Regions from separate parts of the Homo sapiens genome. Here region 2 is linked to region 1. Evidence: promoter capture Hi-C in human tissues and cell types (Jung and others, 2019). All regions are on one chromosome and are shown on one strand. Each heading gives the region's core, a stretch centred on a gene start or on the middle of the fragment in contact. The rest is flanking DNA. Distances are from core to core; before and after follow the strand shown. Region 1 holds the start of PCDH7 (protocadherin 7). Region 2 overlaps PCDH7 (protocadherin 7).

Region 1 (6,155 bases), core at 1,811-4,310:
CCCTTGTCAGCATCCATCACGGTGACCATCCCCACAGGGCTGTTGGGCTGCAAGTTTTCTTTCACATAAAAGGTGAAGACGTCCTGCATAAACTTAGGGTCATTGTCATTTTTATCAGCCACCTGCACAATCACCGTAGTGCTGCCCTGCAGCACGGGGATGCCTTTGTCTTTGGCGTTAACTTTAAACTCATACCTGTCAGTCTGCTCGCGGTCCAGCACGGTATTGACCAGGATGTCCCCAGAATCGGGATCGATGGCAAAGATCCCCATCACAGAGGAGTCCAGCGAGTAGGCGATCTCGGCGTTCTTACCGCTGTCTGCGTCTGTCGCCAGCACCGTGGCCACCCTCTCGCCCGGGATGTTGTTCTCAGGGAAGTAAACCTCCACCACCGACTGGCCGAACATGGGCGGGTTGTCGTTGGTGTCTCCCACCTTGACAATCAGGGAGTTGTTGCTCGAGAGGCTGGGGCTGCCTGAGTCCACCGCCACGATGACCACGTTGAACTCCCGGGTGGCCTCATAGTCCAGAGGGGTCGAGGTGTGCAAGAAGTACTTTTTCTTGTTCTGGTCGCCCTCGGTGTCGCTGGCTGGCTTGAGCTGGAAGGGCACGTCGCCCACCACGGTGCAGGTGACCACCCCGTTCTCGCCTTGGTCTCGGTCGGACACCTGCACCAGAGCGATGGGGGTGTCGACCAGAACGTCCTCGGCCACGTTGGCCACCCCGTCCTTGAGGGGGATGCGCCCAATCTTGCGGATTTCAATGGACGGCACGTTGTCGTTCTCGTCTTTGATGTTAAGGACCACGGTGGCCTTGTCGGTCTTGGGGGGCTGCCCGCGGTCGCGGGCCATGACCGTGAAGCGCAGCTGGTTCACCTCCTCGCGGTCGATCCGGTGCAGGACGCTGAGCCAGCCGGACGTCTCGTCAAGGCGCAGCAGCCGCCTCACCGACTCGGTGGCCGCCCCGAACACGTATTCGATCTGCCCGTTGACCCCCACGTCCAAGTCGGCTGCGCGCAGTTGCAGGATGGGGGTCCCCGGGGCGCTGTTCTCAGCCAAGTCGGCCTCGTACACGCTCTTCTCGAAGCGGGGGCTGTTGTCGTTCACGTCGGTGATGAGGACCCGTAGGATGGCCTGCGAGGAGCGAGGCGGGTCGCCGCCGTCGCGCACTCGCAGGGTCAGCTCGTAGGAGTCGCGCTGCTCGCGGTCCAGCGCCCCCTTCACGATCAGCTGCGGCTGCTTCTCGCCGTCCGGGGTGTCCGCCACCTGCAGCTCGAACACGCTGCTGCGGCCGCCGGGGTTGGTGCCGCCGCCGCCCTCTGATGCGTCCAGCCGCCGCTTGGAGCCTCCCGAGCCGCCGCCGCTCGCGCCGTTCCCGCCGCCCCCGGGGTAGGGGGCGCTGTCGGCCGCCCCGGCGCGCCGGCTCTCGCCGCCGCTGCCGCCGCCTCCGGGCTCCTGGAGCAGCTCGTAGCGCTCGATGCCGTTGCGGCCGAAGTCGCGGTCGGTGGCTGTGGGCAGCAGGTAAAGTGTGCCCACCGGCCGATTCTCCTCCACCGTGAGCGTGAGCACGGGCGACGGGAAGGTGGGCGTGTTGTCGTTGATGTCAAGCACGATGACCTGACCCTCAAACAGGTCCACCCAGCTCTGCGAGGGCCCGATCACCGACACCTCGAAGTCCAGGAAGCACTCGTTCTCGTCGAAGATCATCTGACACTGGGGCAGCTTCTCGCGGTCGATGCGCCGCTCGCTCGTGCTCAGCTCGCCAGTGAGGTTGTCGATCTTCAGGTACTCGGAACCGGACTCCAGGCTGAAAGTCACCTCACCCGATCCGGTCACGATGCCCAGGTCTGAAGCCACGTTGCCGATGCGGACGTCGGCGGGGCCCTCCTCGGCCAGCCGGTACCGGAGGAGCTGCTTGGCGGCCGCCAGGCTGAGCGAGAGCGGCAGGAGGAGGCAGCAGCCCAAGCACCAGCCGCGCGCCCATCCCGCGGTCCGCATCCTCAGCATCTTCTCCTGCTGCTGCTGCTACTGCTCCTTCTAACCACAGCCCCCTCGGCGCCCCCCTCCTCCGGGGCCGGCCGCCTGCCCTCCCCCGAGTCCTCTCCCCTCTCCCGGAAAGGAAGGAGCGAGAGGGAGGGGAGGGAGGGGGCAAAAGCGGCGTGGAGAGTTGGCCGGGAATGGGGGTGGGAGGGCAGCGATAGATGCTTCTTTTTTTCCTCCTGCTTCTTCCGAAAGTTATTGTTTCATAATTCATGCAATGGGTGCTAATCGCCCGCTCGCCTGCCGCCGTTCAGTCGCAGTACTCACAGTTCACGGGACACTGCGCGCCGCGGGTTCGGCGCTCCCCCAACCCAGAGTCATCCCCTCAGCGGGCGGAGAATCCCCGGCTCTAGTCCCCGCTCTGTCGGAAGGGGCCAGAACCGCTCCGGCAGACGGGCAGTGGGGCTGGGAAGAGGTGGGGAATGAGCCTGCAGCCTCCCCCGCCTGCCAGCCCGCTGGTCTTTGCTGCTACTCGAGTTGAGTCCAATTCACGTTCCAGGCACTCACTCCAAACCCAGGCTCTGCTCCGGCTCCGGCCACCCAGACAAACGTGAGTCGCTTCCTGCACCAGGCGCTGGGGCCAGCAACAAGCCAGTCTCAACTCCGACTCTGCTCATGCAGCGGGGGAGCCAGTCAACAGATCGAGAATGAAAAATCCCCCGGCACGTCGCTTCGGGCACGGTGCAGGGGAGACTACTCGCGTCACAGAGCGGTCAGTGTCAGGGTCCCCCCGGCGCGCCAAAGAGAAGCCCGAGCCATCTTCAGAGACGCCCAGAGTCAGTCCCTTCTCACCCCGGAGAGCGCGGGTTTCTCTTTTTTCTTAACAACTCTGCGCAAGGTCATTAGTCACGAAGCAGCCGCCTGAAACCGCAGCAGCCTTTCGCCCACGGGGGCGAAGGCTGAGCAGTGCGCACCGTGCGGTGCCCAAGTTTGGGTTCGCAGCCGCAGAGTCCGTGCCTTTTCTCACCTGCATTCGGCCCGCATGTCGGAGCAGTGGGATCTGCAGCGCTGTGCGCGATTCAGGGAGGAGATTGCAGCCTCTCTCTCCCCGCTCTCTCTCGATCCCTCCCCTCCCTCCCTCCCTTTCTCTCTCCTCCCTCCTCTCTCTCCTCCCTCCTCTCCTTTCCCCTTTCCCCCTCTCCCACTCGCTCTCTTGCACGCTCTCTCTCCTTCCCAATGCAGGGAACTCAAGCTGAACTTGATCCCTTTGCAGTTCAAAGGTGAGCAAACCAGGCTCGGAGCACAGGCGACGTTAGCCGGCGAAAGCGCACGGCCGGGCGTCCCCAACGGCAATTAACAAAGATGCCCAATTCTGTCTGGATTTCCGAAGAAAAGCCAAAGGCTTTCGGGCGGGGGTGGAGGGGGAGGTGGAGTCAGAGACAGCTGCCAAGTAGCTTAAAAAAAAAAATCCAGTTTGCCAAGGGGAGAAAAAGTGTCAGTCGGTTGTGGCCTCGGAAGTGCCCTGGCACGGCTGGTGAATTCCGCAGTTGTCTCGTCCCTTTTCGCGTCTGGGAGAGTCTGGTGCGGGCGCTCCCGCCGCCCCTCGGGCTGCAGCGGCTCGGAGACACTGAACCGCTAGTGGGAATCTCCCGTTCGCTACCCGCGAGCAGGAAACCCGCAAGTTGCCCAAAGTGGTGGTTGCTGCTGGGTGCTCGCTCGCTCACGGATCAGGCTTGTCCCTGACGCTGCTGCTGCAGCGGCGGCGGCAGTAGCAGCCGAGCCGCCGAAACTACACACTAGGAGAGAGCGAGGGAGGAGGGCCCGGGATAAGGAGGCGGGAGGGAGCGTCAGCCAGCCGCCGCGCTCGGGAAAGCCCAGCCTCAGCTCCAGGGGCCGCTCAAAGTGTGCCCAATCCCAGCCAGTCCTCTTTAAGCCAAAGCCCAGTCCCCCTCCCTAGCGAGTACCGCCGTCTTCTCTGGGGGACTTGTTTTCCCTCCCTCGGGCTGGTAAATTTCCTCCTCCCTTGACTAATGCCCAGTTCACGCGTGAGAGCTTTCGGAGCTGGTGTCAGGATAGGTTTCTCCTTCTCCCTCCCTCTCAGACGACGTCCTCCTCCCCCCGGAAAGTGTCTCCGGTTCGCGATTTAGGATCTTGGTTAGGACATGGTTATCGGGGTCCTGGGGAACCTACGAGCGCCCAGAAAGCCACTCTGTTCTGAAAAACCATGACGGGCTGCAGTAGTGAAGAGAGAACATCAAACTCCAGAGAGCTGGAGAAAGATCCTTTTTTGGGAGCTCAGACTTTGGATGGTTGCGGGGGGCAGGGGCGGCGGTGGGTGGAGGGTGAAGGATGTCTGTCTTTGTTTAAATGCTTGACATTCCTGTCGTCGTGCTTGCTTGCGGGGGTAGACCGTGTGTGCGCGCCTGGGGAATAAACACATGTTGGAAACCTCGATATTATTTTCTGAGCAGAAACCTGCAGCCTTTAGTAACTGGCAAAGTGTAGCGTCACCTATCTGGATAAAAGGGAAATAAACTTTAATGGCAACTTTGTGTACCAAAGTGTCCCCAGCTTTCCCATCTCTCCTTTTGACTTTGTGTCCCTTGACTGTCCCTATTTCCTGAAGCAAGGCTTCTCCAATTTTCATTCACGACCACCGCAGCCGGCCTCATCAGATCTCAGGTCTGGTTGTGTTTTTGAACTGAGCCATTTACTCATTTATTTCAGTGGCTGTAAACGAAGAGGCCCGGCTAGGATTAAGACGACTGAGACGGACTGTAGGTATTTGGGGAGAATTTTTACCATCTCGAAAGAGAGAAAGGGCCGCTGCTGGGATTTGCTTAGTCTTCAGCTCGCCTGACGTATCCATACACATTTAAGGGCCTCCCCTCAAAGAAAAATTTAAAGCCGAAAAAATAAAATCTGTCCAGTGTGGGTATTCTTTACGAGACCTGGGTGACGAGGCAGAATGATTTAAACAAGACAAACACCAATAAAGTCAACGAGCAGATGTAGCGCGCGGTTGTTTGGGCGGGCGCAGGAACAGGAATGAGGAGGGAGAGGCGGCAGAGATTTCCAAGCTCTCCCTACAGGGGATCGTAGATGCCCGTTGGATGGAAGTGTGTCTAAGTGTGTGTCAGGGAGCTGGCGAGTATTTTCCAGTCTGTGAAAGTAGCATCACCCCAGGGGTGGTGGCTCCTCCTCCGAGGCCAGGGCAGGGAACCCGGCCTTCCCGCTAACCCTCCCGCTGCTGGCACCCGAACCTCTCAGCTCTGTATCTGCAGCATCAGCGAGAAAAGCCCCGCGCGCAGGCTCAGTGCGCACCGCCGCAGTCTCGAGCCGGGGGCGGGGGTGGGCTCCGCAGCGCCTTCGCGGCCGGCTAAGTGGCAGTAAAGCCAAATCCCTCTTACATTTGGCAAGAACCCGGGTTTATCGGAACGCCTGCCTCTCTCCAAACCTCCGACCCTGGTTCCCCTTTTTCCCAGGTTGGAGGCAAATGGGAGAAGCCGTCTCCACTCCGCGGCCTTGCGCCGTGCATTCCGATGCGCGGCAATATGGTGCAGTGCACTCACTCCCCTCATCGCCTTACTAAGATTTTGCAAACTTCAGGCAGCCGCTTGGGCAGAAACGTTGTGCACTCCCTCTTCCCTCTCCAGACCATAAACTTGAATAAGCCTCTCCGCATCTTCAAAGCATTTGCTCGCGGCTCTGGCGCGCACTCTCCAGGCGCACACTTGAGCGGGGCGCGAAGGAGTGGGCGGCTTTTCCTCAGCGCGCTGCACATTTCTTCCCGGATGACTAGGGAGTTGCAGCGCGTCCTTCACAGTGGAGTGGTTTCCTCTTTGCGAGCGGGAGGAAGTCTCCAGCCCGCCCTCCTCACTCTCATTCCTACCAACTTCGCGGCGGAGCCAAGCCAGCGTGGGAAATGGGTCCGACGTGTGCTGCATGGAGAACAGCGAGGACAGACTGCGGGGGCCAAGAAGCCTGCTGGCTTTGCTCCCACCCCCATCAGTCCCAGGCTCCGACCTTTCTGCCAGAGCAGCAAAGAAGTGGCGGCGGCTTTGCCCTGCAGCGCCGTTCTGGGCAAGCAAAGGAAATGGGCGGGGTAGGGGTACGGGGGAGGTGAGAGGAGCCCTCGGGGCGCCCTTGCGGCGGCTGGAGCTCCCAGTCCTCTTC
Region 2 (6,155 bases), core at 1,809-4,308, 340 kb before region 1:
GATAACTTCACAAAAGCCACATTTTAGATACCATCTTTAATATGAAAAACCAATATAACATACAAACTACATGAGTATCTGAAAGGATTCTTGGATGTTAAACAGTTGCAGAATCCACTGTTACTCTCCCTTGTGTATGGTTCTACTTCCATTTGCTTTCCGACACATTATTAAATGCATCATAAAGTAGAGTGTTTCCTGGAGCAGAAGAGAAGCAGAGGAAAATTATGTTACTCAGAATACCCTAAATTCAATAAACAAAGTCTCTGTGTATATGCACAACCAATTTAACCATGTTGACTCAATTGGTCAATCAATTCTGATTTAAAGCAAAGGTCAGCTCAGTCAAACCAGCAATCATTTCAATGAAAATCAGTAAAAATTTCACTTTCAATCTCCATACTTTGAATATTACAGGAGTTGCAGTTATTCCAGAAAAGGAGAAAATAAAATCTCTAATTCTGTTACACTGAATTTAAGATTACTGACTTTTAAGCCTCTTTTGTTAAAACATTCTTTTAACTCTTTCTTGACTCAGAATATATATTTTGCTTTGTTACTGCAAAAGACAGAAATCAATTTAAGTGCATGGAGACTCTTTTTTTTTCTCCAAGTCCAGAAAAGTTTTATAATGACAGAAAATAAGTATAATTTTATATTTTCTGATAGTAATAGTCTTAGGGACAAAACAAGGTAGGATCTGTTAAGAAACAAAGATTAACTCTCTAGAAGAAAATTAAAACTATAATCTTTAGATTTTGCATCATCATATTATTATCTAAACACCCTATGCATTATACAATTTAAAAGATGAAAAAGACTTCATGAGCCAAACACTGTTGGGAGACAAACCTAATACAGCAATTATCACTAGATAGCTTCTGCTAAAAGAGATTTTAAAATAAAATCACAAATATTCAATCCAGGGAACAGTGCAAATGATACAAACCACAGACTTGTAAGTAAAACACTGACAGTGTAATTTAAAACTTCCTTGTAAACTACACATGTTCTAGAATTTCATATCCCATAGAAATCAACATGACAATAAATGAAGTCAGTAAACAGGGGACAGGCATGCACTTTCTAAGAGAAGTTTGTATTTTGAAATTATTAAAACCTGGATTCCAAGAGATCTTGACAGAAACGAAGAGTCTCTCCTTATAAATGGCATAAATTTGAGCAAGTTACTTAACAACCCATCTTGTTTTACTGAGAATAATGAAAACTTTCCCTAAATTTGTAGTGAAATTTAATGCAAAAATAGATGCATGTTATGTGCTCACTACAGAGAATGTTGAAAAACTGACATTCAATAAATAATATTTATCATTACTGATGTATTATCTAAGTTAACTAAATCAACATTTTCATCCTCATGGCTGACAGTCTTTGTGCTTCAAAGAAAAACACAATGAAAAATCACTAACTTAAAAGAATTATAAGCAGATTAGAAGAAGAAATTACACACTAACCTTCATATATGTTGAAATTGAATATGTTTAGGTTTTGGAGATGGTAAGAAATGATTGCTGTTGGGGAATATTTAAAACTTAAGGCATATGGACAGTATTAAAAATATACATAGAAGTAACCTAAGTTGATGGCAAAAATTTGGTGAATTAAGCTTTGGCAGATGTCCAATAACAAATCATGAAAACTGTCCCCTCAAGGGACTTTAATTAAATATTTGGCCACCAAGGGGCATCAAACAATACGGCAATGAGGAAGACAAAAGCATTTAAGAACCTAGCTGGATACAGGGAGCTCTTCAGAAATGTAAGAAATAAAGGTTTCTTTATACATGAATGCTAGCAAAAGTATAATTAAGTGACCCCAAATAAATAAACAGTCAGTGAGTACGGTCTTAGTCATTTAAATGCTAAGGGAAGTAATTTATTATCATACAAAGATATCTACTTTCATAACCAAGATTGGGGACAATGTGTCCAGAAAATATCCATCTCTTCCCAGCTTACAAGAGCAAAGGAAAAATGAGCTTGCAACCAGATGCCACTGATTTATACTTTATGGGATTTAGCCACATTTGTATAAATTTCTACTTAAAGATAAAGGCCCTCTTAATGGAAATCAGCACACTCTACATTTCTTTGGTCTGGTATCTCTGACTAAACAAAGAAAAGCTGGCATCATAATGATTCTAGCCATCATTATGCTTCAATAATTGTGTAATTTTATGAGTTATTTTGCCTTGATGTTGCTCAATCTCTTCAACTTGTAGAATGAACATAGATTAGATGATCTCTAAGGTTACTTTCAGCCTAATATTTTATACAGGTAATAAAAGAATACTTTATATAGTAAATATGTATAATGCTTCAATTATACATACATATAAATCAATGGAGATAAGATTACATATAATTGTTGAAAAATATTCTCTTGATTGTAATTTATTTGGGTTATTAGAAACACAGAATAGAATTCAGAGATATCTGACTCAACTGTCCTTCACTAAATATAAATTTTCGTTTTCCCAGATTATTGAACAAATGGAAATGTACATCTGTCTAGCTCAAGTTGAAAATCATATTCTTTTACTATGTGTTCAAACAGTTTAACTTGTTATCATTTTGAGGGCAAATAAAACAACACTGAAGTGACATGGAGCTTAATCTTTAGAAGAAAATATTTACATATACTCTGGAGATTATGAATAAATATGACTGAGTAATCTGAATTGATACAATTCTACTGTCATGCTTTCAATGAGTGTTGAAGAGGCCTGGATAACTATACCTAAATTGATTTTAAAAAATAGTAATCATACATTGTTGCCAGAAGTGTTATTAGGAACAAAAGAGTTTTGATTTCTATTATTTTAAGAACACAATTTTTAAGAAGTTATGCAAGTCATACAGATGCTGTCATCAAGCATTCATAGAACATTTCTCCTCAGAATAAAGATTTGCTTCAAAATTGGTTGTCATTTCAAGTTAATTCAAATATAAATATACACTTCAAAAACCATATGAAAGTCAGCAAATACAAAAATGATCTTAAGACATAATGGTATGAAGTCAAGACAAATATCACAATTTTAAGAAGTAAATTCTAAAGGAAAAAAACTTGAAATGTTTTTTAAGCATCAGGTTTCTCCATATAAGGGAAAGATTGCTTCAATTTCTCTTAAGTATTGAATTAGAGCCTATGACTTTTACCCAATAAAAATGGAACAATAGGTTTTAGATCGGCAGTCAGTTACATGTGGCAGTGAGTGTCAGCCTGTAAATAGCTTCACAATTCTGTGTATCACTGCTTTTGTTAATTCTTCTATTTGGCTCTATTCATTCTATTGTCCTCCTTTCGAATGACTGTCTCTGGAATCACCCACTCAAAAACTCCATCATTATCTAAAGCACATTTGTCTACATGAGAGAGTGTTTATTAGGTTTGCCACTAGATTGCCAACACAGTTGGTGTGAAAGACTGCCAGGCAATTAACTTTCATTCATTAATTTCCAAAAATATTACCTACATTATAAGAAGGTCTTTTACCTCCTTAATTAAATCAATGGTCAAATTATATTTATTGTCCTCAGGAAGCTCATTAAATAAAGTAATAAAAATTAGAAAACCATCTTTGGAACAAAATGTCATATATATCATTTACTTCTCAGGTAAATGCACTCTGCCTAACTAAAATGATCTTAAGGATCATACTCTTTGTCTGTTAAATTTATAAATTTTGGGGTAAATTTTGCTTCAGTAGACTGGCATATATCAACAAGCCTTTAACAAATAAATTAATATTGCTTACCCAGGCATCAACATTATTTAAGATGAATTTCACAGAACCTCACCATTGTGCATACTCTATTAAACAGAATGGATTAAAACAAAGAATACAGTAAAAACTCTTTAAGTGAAAATGGGTATCACCCAATTCCTTGCACAGAATTAATTGATGAAAGTTGTTCATTGGTATTTTTGTTGCGTGTGTGTGTTGTTTGTTGAGGGATTTATTTTATTTTACTTTAATTTTAATTTTTTTGGTTGTGTCAGAGAAGCCAAATTTTTCTCTACTGCTTCTAAATAAAACTATTTCAAAGCTGCAAACTCTTATTTTATAGCAGATACTTCATTGGAATCTTATTGCTTTCAGTTGTCAAAGGTCATTTCAACTTAATTGGATATTTAAATCCTAAGACTCTCCTGTGAGCATCCACTAGAAGATTTATCTTTTCTTTGAACCCCTAATCATGCTTTCTATGATTCTAAAGGCAGTTAGAAAGAATATGTACATATTCCAGGTACATGTTTTGTCTCCTCTTTAAGAGAGTAAGTATCTTACAAGGATATTTCATCGGTTTTGCATTCTGATTGTGCTATATGTATTTAGTAGGTGCTAAGTAAGCCTCTTCTAAAGAAATGGTTAGATGAGGAAATAGCTGGTTGTAGTGATGGAGATGTATAGTAATGAGCAATAAATTTTTCTAAACTAAGTAAGATTTTTAAACAATGTATTTAAATGATCACACTACTGTTGATTCCTAAAGGGATATACCTAAGCTTGATTTTCTTGTTCATTCTTAGGGAATACATGGTGTTACTTTGGTAGTTGAATTCACTGACAGAATTGGATTCCCATAGCTAACTGGCATGTGACCTTAATCATCAGGTGTATTATCACATACAGCCCAGTTCTCACGGACATATAGGAAAGTTTTAATCTCTTCTCTAATCCCCAGTACAGAAAAGTTCATATATGTTTATACCAGGAGACTCATGCAATGACCCACCTCTGCATCACTACTGTTGAAAGTGACAATGCTTGTTCTATTTCAGAGACTGTGCTTTAGGACCATGGCTTCATCTTCCCATTTTCTATGATGACTTTATTTTGAAGAAAAATGGAGGAGAGATTATTATTTAAATGGAGTCAGAAAAATAAAGTCAATTTCTGCTAGGTGTAGAAGAAGAGAGGAAAATATAATATGACTAAGCTTTTCTACTTATGAAAGTAAAACTATTTTTGAAAGTTGGCAAAAGAATAAGAAAAAAGATCTCACAGGTTTACAAATATTTCTAATAAAGTACATTTATGAATATACTATTTATAAATGAATAGACTTAAACAAAGGCCAAACTTATTTAATAACGCATTTTTTCCTAAACACTGAAATTTTCTAAAAATAAACAAATCCTTAATACGTAACACAAATGAATTAAGATATTCATTGACAAACATACATATTTAAAGTTTGTCCCATTTGGATATTTGACTAATGGATGACTATTTAAGAAAATGTTGGCTGGGTGTGGTGGCTCATGCCTGTAATCCCAGCACTTTGGGAGACCAAAGAGGGAGGATCACCTGAAGTCAGGAGTTCAAGACCAGCCTGGCCAACATGGTGAAATCCCATCATTGGGCTCTCTTTCTTTTCTTTGCTTTCGTTTCTCTTTCTTTCCCTTCCTTTTTCTCTTTCTCTCTTGCTGTCTCTCTCCTCTCTCTTTCTCTTTCTCTCTCTCCTCTCTCTCTTTCTCTCTCTCTCTCCTCTCTCTCTCTGTCTTTCACTCTCTCTCTCTCCTTTCCTTCCTTCCTCCCTTCCCTTCCTCTCTTCCCTTCCCTTCCTCTCTCTCTCTCCCTCTCTCCTTCCTTCCCTTCCCTTCCCCTTTCTTTCTTTCTTTCTTTCTTTCTTTCTTTCTTTCTTTCTTTCTTTCTTTCTTTCTTCTTTCTTTCTTTCTTTCCTTCTTTCTTTTTCTTTCCTTCTTTCCTTCTTTCTTTCTTCCTTTCCTTCTTTCCTTCTTTCTTTCTTCCTTTCCTGTCAGGGTCTCTCTCTGTCACGTATGCTGGAGTGCAGTGACACTATTACGGCTTACTACAGCTTCGACCTCCTCGGCTCAAATGATCCTACATCCTCAGCATCCCAAGTAGCTGGGGCCACAGGCGTATGCCACCACACCAGGCTAATTTTTGTATTTTTTTAAAGATGGGGTTTCCCCACATTGCCCAGGCTGGTCTAGAACTCCTGGGCTCAAATGATCCTTCTGCCTCAGACTCCCGAAGTATTGAGATTACATGCATGAGCCACCACGCCCGGCTCTCATTATTTTCTAAGTCCACTTCTGGGATACATTCTTAGTCTTAAAGGGAAAACATTACTAACTACAACTGATTTACTCAGTTCTAG

Evidence for each region. The method cuts DNA at HindIII sites, captures the fragments that hold promoters and counts their contacts. A contact is called where the count stands out against the background at its distance.
Region 2: a contact is called between a fragment that was not itself captured here and the fragment with the promoter of PCDH7 in region 1, in 1 of the 25 tissues and cell types used here (H1 embryonic stem cells).

Annotation. Positions count from the first base shown.
Region 1 is chr4:30,717,274-30,723,428 of GRCh38, reverse strand. It overlaps PCDH7 (protocadherin 7), which reads right to left and starts at 3,060. Exons shown (of 3, transcript NM_001173523.2): 1 at 1-3,060. The coding sequence starts at 2,006. It overlaps LOC124900844, which reads left to right and starts at 4,308. Exons shown (of 1, transcript XM_047416545.1): 1 at 4,308-6,155. The coding sequence starts at 5,522. The coding sequence ends at 6,088. RefSeq lists an enhancer at 1,541-2,251. The HindIII fragment of the contact is 10,727 bases long and covers 1-6,155 here.
Region 2 is chr4:31,055,999-31,062,153 of GRCh38, reverse strand. The region is part of intron 2 of PCDH7 (protocadherin 7); the gene reads right to left. Among named protein-coding and RNA genes, the nearest start is that of LINC02497, 110 kb to the left of the region's middle. The HindIII fragment of the contact is 5,592 bases long and covers 263-5,854 here.